Regions from separate parts of the Homo sapiens genome. Here region 2 is linked to region 1. The links are contacts of gene promoters, found by promoter capture Hi-C in blood cells and fetal thymus (Javierre and others, 2016). All regions are on one chromosome and are shown on one strand. The core of a region is centred on a gene start or on the middle of the fragment in contact, and the rest is flanking DNA. Distances in the headings are between cores, read along the strand shown. Region 1 holds the start of METTL13 (methyltransferase 13, eEF1A N-terminus and K55). Region 2 holds the start of TMCO1 (transmembrane and coiled-coil domains 1).

Region 1 (5,710 bases), core at 2,359-4,858:
CAAAGCCAGAAACATTGGGCCAAGCCCTTCTGTCTCTCCCTCTTCTACTTTAAAAGACCCTTGTGGCCCAGCCTGGCCAACATGGTGAGACTACTAAAAATACAAAAATCAGCTGGGTGTGTGCACGCCTGTAATCCGTAGCTACTCAAGAGGCTGAGGCAGGAGAATTGCTTGAACCTGGGAGGCGGAGGTTGCAGTGAGCCAAGATCGTGCCACTGCACTCCAGACTGGGCAACAGAGTAAGACTCCGTCTCAAAAAAAAAAAAAAAAAAAAAGAAAGAAAATGAAAAAGGACCCTGTGATTACATTGAGCTCAGTTAGATAATCTTGCTATGTCAGCTGATTAGCATCCTTAATTGCATCTACAACCTTAATTCTTCTTTGCCTTGTAACCTGTTACCTTCACAGTTTCGGTTCAGGGGATTAGGAGGTAGACATCTTTAGGGGAGCATTATTTTGCCTCTCTCATCCTCTGCCTCCCAAATTGTCAGAGATGCTTTTTATTCCCTCTTTATTATTTTACAATTAATCGTAGTAACAATCAATTGAATATTACCACAATTATGAGAATGTTTCAATTAAGTAAGTTTGACTGTAAATTATATATCCAGAGGTCTGGATTTATATTTTTAGGAAAAAACTCCACAATACTGAATGGCTTTATCTAAATTTAGCTTGCATTTTAAATCATATTTTTAACCACTCTGGGGATCCTAATAAAACACAAAGCATTTTAACATCTTATTGGTTTAAATTAACTAAGTATACTAATGATAACACATACCTATCAATTATATTTCATAGTTAAATCTTGAGAGAAATAAGCTTCAAATAAGTATTTTGAAAGGTTAATGCTAGGGTCTAATGTTACAATATATCTAAAATATTTCTGTGTTAATCTTACAATTTTAGAAAATCTCTAGTATGTTTAAGCTTAAAATGTTCTGGTTGTTATCACTTTTTTAGGCTCACAGAAGGGAGGCAGGCACAGATGGAAAAACGTAAGTTACTTACCCTTTTGGTCTGAAAAACACTGCAAACAGTAATCATACTTTTAGAGCATCAAATACGGGGCTGGAGCCTGGGCTGTGATAGAAATAACTTCGTCTTTTCTAATAACATGACCTTAACAGAACAGACAATGGAGACAGAGGGAAAAGCAGCAGCCAGAAATTCTTGTAAAGGTTCCAGAAGGTGAACCATGCTTTTTGGTTTTTCACCTATGTCATGCTGATATTAAGCAGTCAGATTATATAGTATTTTTGTCCCTTCCTCAGGGAAGCCTTCTCTGGTTACCCCTTAGATCAGTAGAGGTCACAAAGATATACTATCATGGAATGGTATGGTTCTCCTTCACAGCACTTATAACTCCCATTACAGACTATTTTTGTAATTGTTTAATGTGCCCTCCACGTGATTACCATGCTTACCACTGCATCCTTAGCTTCTACCACAGTGATTGGCCCCTATTAGACAATTAAAATATTTGTTGAACTGAATTGAATAAAGCTTTGGGGGGCACAGAGCAGCTGCTATGGTTTTTGTTTGTTTTTGTTGTTGTCGTTTTTGAGAGGGAGTCTCCTTCTGTTGGCCAGGATGGAGTGCGGTGGCGCAATCTCTTGGCTCACTGCAACCTCCGCCTCCCGGGTTCAAGCGATTCTCCTGCCTCAGCCTCCTGAGTAGCTGGGACCACAGGCACACACAACCACGCTCGGCTAATTTTTGTATTTTTATTAGAGACATGGTTTCACCATGTTGGCCAGGCTGATCTCAAACTCCTGATCTCAAGTGATCCGCCCGCCTCGGCCTACCAAAGTGGTAGGATTACAGGCGTGAGCCACCGCGCCTGGCTGCTATGCTGTTTTGCTTCTTTGGTATCGTGTAGCACATTCAGTACAAGTGATGTCCTCCGCTCTCAATAAGTGCTTCCTAAAGAACTCACATTTCACCCATTCAGAACCTTGCATGGTGTAGTAGCTGAAGTTACTACTTCAAGGACTCCTTCTCTTTATCTTGGGTAGAGAGGAACAATGTGAACTCAGCAAAGGGATCATGAAAACAGATTTTCTCTTATGTTACTTGTAGAAAGCTTTTAGATTTATCATTGAAAATTGCGAATTTTGAACCATATCCATTTTGACTTAATTGTATTTTAAAACAGTGGTTCTCAAAAAAGTGTGGTTCCGGGACCAACATCATCAGCATCGTGGGAACTTGTTAGAAACACAAATCCTTGGGCCTCACCACTGAACTAATGACTTAGAACAGGGGTTGGACTGGGGAATTCTGTGTTTTAACAAGTCCTCCAGGTGATTCTGACGCATGCCAGTTTGAGAATCACTTTTTTAAACCAATGTTTAAGTCCAATCTAACCTACTTAACTATTAACAGTCTACCTGGCTATCTACCTGTGGTAGTGTAGTATGTAACAGCCCACAGCACACATGCTCAATTCCAAGCCTATCTGCTCTCCGCAATCAGTATATTCCTCCTGCAATTTATCATGGTATGAAAGGCCCAGTGATACACATATTTGGTCATTTTCAAATAGTGCCTGCCAGCATAGTGGCTCACACCAGTCATCCCAGCACTTTGGTAGGGTGAGGCGAGATGATCATTTGAGCTCAGGAGTTTGAGAACAGCCCGGACAACATGGCGAAACCCCATTTCTACAAAAAAAAAAAAAAAATTAGCCAGCGGTAGTGGCGTGCTACTTGGGAGGCTGAGGTGGGAGGATCCCCTGACCCCTGGAAAGTGGAGACTGCAGTGAGCCATGACTGCACCACTGCACTCCAGTCTGGGCGACAGAGACAGACCCTGTCTGAAAAAAAAGTGCCCTTCACAGAAGCTTCCTCAGGGTATTAGCATGAGCATGTGAAAGTACAGTATGTTTATCAAACACATAAAATAAGCAGTTATAAATAACGTCAGAATAACACAAGGAGGCCAATTATCAAAATGAAAGGCTAGTTTTGCATGCTGTGCTTTGCGGAGAGAAGGAAGAGGGAGTTTTCATGTTATTACACTTTTGATAGCAGAATCCTATATTTTGGTGCAGAGGTGGCAAAATAAGGCGGGGGGTGCTGGTGCGCAGAAGCTGACAAGGTTAGAATGTGCAGCGTTTTTACGACGGACTGGCTTTACTCATTTCCTGCCTCACTTCTCTCCTATCTGTATAGGTTTTTCTTTTCGTCCTCCTCTACCAGTACGCTCCCGCCTGCCGCGCTCCGCCCTTGTGCGGCGCACGATCGGAGTCAGTGATTAAGCCGGCTCCAAGACAAAGCGGAGGCCGAGCCCAGGAAGCAAGCGCGCTCTCCGCCCCGCCTGGAGGGAGGGCCCAACCACAGCACAGCCGCGCTCACTCCTCACCCGGACGTGACCTAGTTCTCACAGAGGCCCGGCCTCTTCCGCCACAACTCCGGCCCGCGGTCCCGCCCCGTTCCGTGAATGGTCGGCCGGCCTCAGGTCAAAAAAGCGTTTAGGTGTCTGCGACGGAGCCTCCGGAGAAAGGCAAGCACGTCGCAGCCAATGAGGTGATAGAAACGCAAAGCAGCGACCAATGACTAGCTGAGTTGGGCTGGGCCGGCCGACGAATCACGAGGCTTCGCACCCGGATATGGTTATGGGCTCGGAAATCTAGTTCGGGAAAAGTGTGAGGGGCTCTTCACGTGGGGAAGGAACAGCAGGCGCGGAGGAGGGGGCAAGCGTGTGTGAGATTCAGTGGTCCATGCGTGCGTTTGTCGTGTAAGGGTCATTCCTGGGGTTTGGAGTGGGGGAACAAATCAATGTGGCTGTTTTTCCGTGGAAAGAATTCCCACTGCAGTGTCCCGGAGCCTGCGTGTGGTGGGCAAGCTCCTCAAATGGTATCTCACAGGGAATAGGGGAGTCTTGAAAACGCAGCTTCGGCAGTAGGAACATGAACCTCTTACCTAAAAGTTCCAGGGAGTTTGGCTCCGTTGACTATTGGGAGAAGTTCTTCCAGCAGCGAGGAAAGAAAGCTTTCGAGTGGTATGGAACCTACCTGGAACTGTGCGGGGTGCTACATAAATATATCAAGCCCAGGGAAAAGGTGAGGAGCGCGGGTTGGTAGCCCTTCGTACGTGCTCCGGAAGGTGGGAACTGGTAACAGGAATCTTGCACTTGGTGGACAGTGACAGGCGGGAGGACCCTAGTTGGACGCATATTTCAGCATTTCCTGCATTGTTCCTGCTAAAAGACAAACTAGAATATTCTTTCAGGCCGGGCGCAGTGGCTCACACCTGTAATCCGAACACTTTGGGAGACCGAGGTGGGAGGATCGCTTGAGCCCTGGAGTTAAAGACCAGCCTGGGGAACATGAGACCTCGTCTCTACAAAAAATGAAAAAATTAGCCGGGCGTGGTGGCGCGCATCTGTATTTCCAGCTACTCGGGAGGCTTAGGCGGGAGGATCGCTTGAGCCCAGGAGGTCGAGGCTGCAGTGAGCCATGATCACGCCACTGCACTCCAGCCTGGGTGACAGAGTGAGACCCTGTCTAAAAAAAAAAACATTTCTTTAAAGGTTTTCAGATAATAGACCTCCCACCCCAGCTCATTCTTGGATTAATAACCCTACTTGAAGAGTGACTTCCCATCTTGAAAGTATGTTCTTCTGTCACTGTGCATTCCTGTGCAACCTGCAGCAGGTGTGACTTTGTGTATGAATTTGTTTTTCAAATAGTCGTTGAGTGCGCCCCAAGTTTCAGGCACTGCTCAGTCCTTAAACTATAAGAGCATTAAGACGTAAACCCTGCACATGTTCCAGAAGTGAAACGTGATAAGTACAACAATGGGTTTGGTATAGGTGAGATTGTACTGGAGGTAGGGAAGGAGGAAGGTAGAAAACTTAACATTTGTGGGGAAGCTTTATGTGCCAAGCCTTATGTTGGGTGCTGTGTATGTGCATGTGCAATCTTTGAATTCTCATCATAAATTCAGGTGAGTGGCCATGCATACATTTTACAGATGAGGAAACTGAGGCCCCGAGAGCCACTTTTTTTTTTTTTTTTGCCCAAGATCATGTCCAGGTGGTCATGTGGGGATTTAAACTCAGGCCTGTCTGGCTCCAGAGCATATGCACATCTCTTTGTACCATGCTTTTCCAAAGATGGCAATATCAGAATTTCTAAGTTTGAATGGGAGATTGCTCCCTGGAGAGGGAGACAACAATCTGAATTTTAAGTTCGGCTTCAGAAGATAGCCAAATATCATGAGATGGAATCCGTGATGGAAGTAAGATTTGAATCCTCACAAAGTGTACTTTATTGTCTAAAGGAGCCAAAGGCATGAGTAGAGTGAGGAAATAGGGTTATTCCTGGCCTAGGATTTCAACTGTAACTCTATATTTGGATTCTCTGACTTCCTATTAATTCCTGAGTAATAAGTGCATGATTTAGAGAAAAGAACAGTTATGATTAATTTGTTTCTGCAACACAAAGCCCATTCTCATATAACCTGTATTGTAGCTGAATGTGGTTTTCACTAGCAAGTATATGTGGTGTTTCAAGATAGAGTCTAGCATCAACTCTACAATGTCGCTCTTTCTCTGGCAGTAGCGTCTCCACCTTCTGAAAATGTGACTCAGCCAAGGTGAGACTTGATTCCTTGAAGTACCTGAAGTACAGTCCTTTGCTTTGATTACCTCCCTCTTGTCTGTGAATTTTTTCTCCAGGTGCTGGTGATTGGGTGTGGCA
Region 2 (5,710 bases), core at 1,008-3,507, 6.0 Mb before region 1:
GACCTCATCTCTCCAAAATATCAGCCAGTCATGGTGGTGTGCATCTGTAGTCCCAGCTACTCAGAAGTCTGAGGCAGGAGGATCGCTTAAGCCTGGGAGGTCCAGGCTGCAATGAGCTCTGAGGGGTGACAGAGTGAGACCCTGTCTCAAAAAATAAATAAATAAATAAAAAATAAAAAAAGGATGACTAGTAAGATGGAGAGCAGCAAAACCGAAAGTATGGTGTCCTGGAGCCAAATTAATAAAGCATATCAAGGTTTCTGGCTTACACTACTGGAAGCATGGAGGTACCCATCACCAAGATAGGGAAATCCTGGAAGAATATCACGTTTGTGAAGGTAAAGATAACGAGTTTGGCCCAGATATGCTGAGGTACATAATCAACACTGAGTAAATTAAGGAACAGTAAGCTGTAATTTTAAAAGCCTGAGTCTGGTCTCTAATTCTTTGTTTGCTCTGTGACGTAAGTTGTCATTATCATCCTGAGGCTCAATTTTCTTTCCTATGACATGGAGGTAATATTTATACGAGTAACCACAAATGGTTGCTGTGTAGATCAAATATGGTAATTTAAGAAAAAAAACTTCAAACCCCTATGAAGATATAAGAAAAAGTCACAGAATACAGAAAGTTGTAGGAATTCTAAGAAACAAAAGTTATATTTAATCCTTATAAGGAAAAAAAGAAGAGAGAAAACTAAATCAGGCCTATAAGGAACCATTCACCCTGTACCTTTAGCTGAGTCCTGTGGAATTCCTGCTTTATTTCAAAGGTAACAAACCCTTCTTGTTTTTAATCTTTTCCTTAAACACCTCTTCAACTTTCTAACCCAACTGAAACTCGGCTTATCTCTGAAGACACCACTTACCTTGACACCAGTCATAATGACATATCATCCTCCAAACATGCCTTAAATGTTAAGATTTCCATATTTTTGCTCATATGTTATTTCTTTACCTGGAATTTCCTTTCCCCATTTCATTCTCTATCCAAATTCTAACTATCCACAAGGAACTGCAAGGCCATCAGCATCATGAAGGCTACCATGGTTCCTCACAACTGAATGAAGCCTCTTCTTCTTTTTTTTTTAAAGACAAGTCTCACTATTGCCCAGGAGGCAGTGTAGTGACACCATCGTGGCCCACTGTAGCCTCAATCTCCTGGGCTCAAGGGATCCTCATGCCTCAGTCTCCCAAATAGCTGGGACTATAGGTGTGTACCACCATACCCAGCTAATTTTTTCTGTAGGGACGAGGTCTCCCTATGTTGCCCAGGCTGGTGTCAAACCCCTAAGTTCAGTCCTGCCTCAGCCTTCCAAAGTGCTGGGATTAACAGGAGTAAGCCACTGCGCCAGATTGAACCTCTTCTTTAGAACCACCACAGCACATAACATGTATCTGCTACGCCCCTCACTTCCCTCTAGTTGGTATTACACATTTTGCATAAAAGTCTTCTATTTCTAAATAGGCTTCAAGTCAGGTTCATCTTTGTATCAGCTGGTGCTCTTAAAATATTTATTGTGAACATGGACTTAATGAGCTTGACGTGTTGAAATTATTTCTAATGTGTTGCCATACTCACATTTTTTACTCTGTTTTTCCACTTCTGCCTTCAGTCTCTTGTACTTGTCTGTCCTGTAAACCAGGACCCAGGTTATGCCTAAAACATTAAAAGCAACATGTTAATAGAGAAATGACTGGAATGATCACAACAAACAAAGTGGTTACTGTTGGAGAAGGAGGAATTCCAACTTTTCGCTTTGTATTTACCCATAGTTAACTTTTTTCAAAGGCTAATACAACTGACTCTTCAGCCAAAACAACAGTAACATGATGTGAAGGTGTCTCCACAAATACCCAAGTGAAATCTACCTGAGACCAAAGAAAACTCGGCAATCGACTCCATACTCCCCTCCTGCTCCTGTTCACGAGTTGCCCAGAGATTCCCTGAAGTGGAGTAGATGAGCCTCTCAAGCAAGTAAGGCTCGCGATCTTTCCCCTGGTGGCACAGGGGACCCCGGGGCCCTTCCTCCCGGGGACTGATCAAACGTCTGAGAAATACCCGCTCTCACCCTCTGCGAGCAGAGCCGTGCACACAGAGATAAAAACGATGAGGAGAGTGTCCGCGAACATAGTGCTCATCTCGCACCTTCGTCTCTGCACTCTCACCCGCCAGGGGGAAAGCGCTCTACAGCCAGGAAAAGTGAAGCGAAAACGGCTTCCGTAGACTCCGCCACCACCGAGTAACAGACCAACTCTGACAGCCCGAAGATCGCACTTCCGCTTCCGGGGCATAGCACCGGAAAGGCTCGTATCGGAGAACGGTGTGGCCACGAGAGTCTAGAGGAAACCAACCCGCAACTCACTGGAGCTGAAGGGCTGGTAGTCAGGCCGAATCTCGCGAGAATTGGAACTATTTCAGAGCCAGAGGAGGATAGTGGCGGCGGCGAACTTTGCCCGGTAGATTTTACTGACTGGGGTGCTGGCGCGCGCCTTTTTCTCGGCCAGAATCCAGTTATTGGGATAGTCTTGACTTCTACCTCAGCCCAACTTCTGTGGTCGTAATATTAGTTTAGCTTGGGTTTGCCGTGAAGTAAGAAGACTGACTTCCGCAAAGGTACTGAACGACTGGGTGTAGGTGCCAGGGCATGGACGTGAAGCTGGAACCGCGAAATGAGTTAGTTGTGGGCCGCTGGCCTCAAGGAGCGAACGTCAGCGCGAAGAGGAGAAGCTTGTGCATACGCTCTGATAAGGGTTTTAATAGAGGTATTACCACAGTGCTGCGTGACACGGTTGAGAGAGTGGTCAGAAGAAGCTAATGAAAGGAATTGAAGCAGTGCCTTAGGGGAGTAGGAGTACTTTTGGAGATAGCAAAGGACTTTCTAGGCAAAGTGGAAGTCAAAGCACGGATGCCTGAAAATTCATAGTGTGATAGTGCAGTGAGTAATGTATCTAGAGAAGGGGTCTTAAACCCAGATGCCTAGACTGGCGAGAGAAAATAAATTATCTTATGCAAGCTGAGCCTAAACAAATGGTGGAAGTTACTACGATGGATAAGTGAGCATTAAGTTCATCTGAAAGGAGAATTTGATACCCAAATCCAACCCATTTCTCTAGGAGAATGAGCACCCAGTTTCTGAGATGTCTTCGTTTCTCAGGAAAATCCAGAAATCCTGGGTTTTATGTGAAACTTAATTTATAAGTGTTGCTAACTAATTAAAATTCAAAAATGTCTCAGCAGCGTGGTTTCAGCCATTGTAGACGGTTTCAGCTTTTTCACACTGGGGTGTGTGTGTGTATGGGTGAAAACCTGGAAGCTGGCTGAGCTGTATCCTCTTGTACTTCCTCCTATCATTGGTGTTTTTTTGTTTGTTTGAGATGGAGTTTCACTCTTGTTGCCCAGGTGGAGTGCAATGGCACAATCTCGGCTCACTGCAACCTCTGCCTCCGGGTTCAAGCCATTCTCCTGCCTCAGCCTCCCAAGTAGCTGGGACTACAGGTGCCCGTCCCCACGCCCAGCTAATTTTTTGTATTTTTAGTAGAGACGGGGTTTTGCCATGTTGGCCAGGCTGGTCTTGAACTCCTGACCTCAGATCCACCCACTTCGGCCTCCCAAAGTGCTGGGAATACAGGCGTGAGCCACCGTGGCCGGCCCTCATTGGTTCTTTTAAACTGTACTGCACTTAAATATATAATTCTCCTAAACACTACTTTTGACTTTTTTTTAGCTTTATGTGCATTTCTTGTCTCCCAGACTTAGCAACAGAGACCCTGTCTCCTTTTTAAGAAACATTATTGAGCTTCTACTATATGTCAAGAACTGTGGTAGGCACTGTAGGGTCAAAAGGATGGTTAAGAGAATATTCCTGACTTCTAAGGGCCCAGGGAGATTATATAATATAATAAGATTATAGGTATTATAGAGGTATTCTTAAAATGTTGAGGGGGTACAGATGAAAACAAGATGTATTCTTCCTGGGGAGTTGGAAAGGTTTCAGAAAGATCATATTTGAGCTAGACCTTTATTTGAGCAGTTCAGACAAGGATAGGTTTTTATTCACCTTTGTATCACCCAAGGTAAGTGCTGAGATAACAATAAGAGCATGATCTTGGAAATCAGACCTGATTTTAAATTCTTGCTCTGCCACTTACTTGACAGCAGTCCTAGAACCTATTGTTTAGCATCTTTGAGCCTTCAAAATGGTGGTAACATCAGCTATGAAGACTGGATGAGGAAAAGTATATTATAAAGCATTTCAAGCAGTGCTTGGCACACACAATTCATCAAATTCAACATGCTATTCATTGTAAGACGCATCATTATTTTATCTACTACTAAAGAGGAAAAAATAACTAATTAAACCATGACACACCATTGATTGTAAGAAGAATCCCATTCAGAGATGTTAAAATATGAAAAAATGAGAAAATATGAAATATATTAATAAGCAGTTAAGTTATTCCTGTGTAAATGTTTACAACCATGGACTGCTAGGATACACTTCCTTTTCTAGGGTAATGATGTCATGACACTATGCCCCTTGTTTAAGAACAGTGCTAGAAGTCAGGCGCGGTGGCTCACGCCTGCAATCCCAGCACTTTGGGAGGCTGAGGCGGGCGGATCACGAGGTCAGGAGATTGAGACCATCCTGGTTAACACGGTGAAACCCCGTCTCTACTAAAAATACAAAAAAATTAGCTGGTCGTGGTGGTGGGCGCCTGTAGTCCCAGCTACTCGGGAGGCTGAGGCAGGAGAATGGCGCGAACCTGGGAGGCGGAGTTTGCAGTGAGCCGAGATGGCGCCACTGCACTCCAGCCTGGGCGACAGAGCAAGACTCGGTCTCAAAAAAAAAAAAAAAAAAAAAAAAGGAACAGTGCTAGAGACAAGTTCAGATAACATCTTTTCTAGATTCTACTAGTTTTCTTTGTTATATTCCCAAATTCTCTAAGCTCTTAGTTGTACTATCTAATTTTTAGATTTCAAAGCTTTCCCCATGAGGACTGCTCTCCCAAAGCTCACTGACCTCCTCCAATCTCTAGTACAATAGGAAGACTTTTGTCCTGGGACTTAATTTTACTATTCTCTTGAAACCACATTTTTGTTTCTAGTTTATACTTGATGTTGTGGTACATCTTCAAGTAACTTTCTGTGAAAGGTGAATGGGAGCTAAGCCTGTTCTTACATTATTAGTAGAATTAGTAATAATAATACTGTTGTTGCTTTGGGGTTGTGTTTTGTTTTCTAGAGACAGGGTCTCACTTTGTTGCCCAGGCTCGGTCTCGAACTCCAGGGCTCAAAGCAGTCCTCCTGCTTCAGCCTCCCAAAGTGTTGGGATTACAGGCATGAGCCACCATGCCCAGCCAATACTGTGCTTCATTTTTATTTATTTATTTAATTTATTTTTGAGATGGAATCTCACTCTGTCGCCCACGCTGGAGTGCAGTGGCACAATTTTAGTTCACTGCAACCTCTGCCTCCCGGGTTCAAGCGATTCTCCTGCCTTAGCCTCCGGAGTACCTGGGTTTACAGGCATGCACCACCATGCCCAGCTAATTTTTGTATTTTTAGTAGAGACAGCGTTTCACCTTTTTGGCCAGGCTGGTCTTGATCTCCTGACCTCAAGTGATCCACCCACCTCGGTCTCCCAAAGTGCTGGGATTACAGGCATGAGCCACCGCGCCCAGCCCAATACTGTTCTTTAAATACACAT

What was found. Contacts are between HindIII fragments. The CHiCAGO score rates a contact against its expected background, and 5 or more counts as called.
Region 2: a contact is called between the fragment with the promoter of TMCO1 here and the fragment with the promoter of METTL13 in region 1, in 2 of 17 cell types (total B cells and naive B cells). The highest score is 7.5, in total B cells.

The regions. Positions count from the first base shown.
Region 1 is chr1:171,778,052-171,783,761 of GRCh38, forward strand. METTL13 (methyltransferase 13, eEF1A N-terminus and K55) reads left to right here and starts at 3,609. Exons shown (of 8, transcript NM_015935.5): 1 at 3,609-4,069; 2 at 5,689-5,710. The coding sequence starts at 3,917. RefSeq lists enhancers at 3,298-3,592, 3,422-3,955. The HindIII fragment of the contact is 1,150 bases long and covers 2,847-3,996 here.
Region 2 is chr1:165,766,611-165,772,320 of GRCh38, forward strand. TMCO1 (transmembrane and coiled-coil domains 1) reads right to left here and starts at 2,258. Exons shown (of 7, transcript NM_019026.6): 1 at 2,072-2,258; 2 at 1,582-1,659. The coding sequence starts at 2,141. It overlaps TMCO1-AS1 (TMCO1 antisense RNA 1), which reads left to right and starts at 2,319. Exons shown (of 3, transcript NR_125374.1): 1 at 2,319-2,765. RefSeq lists enhancers at 1,869-2,545, 2,546-3,221. The HindIII fragment of the contact is 3,297 bases long and covers 1-2,728 here.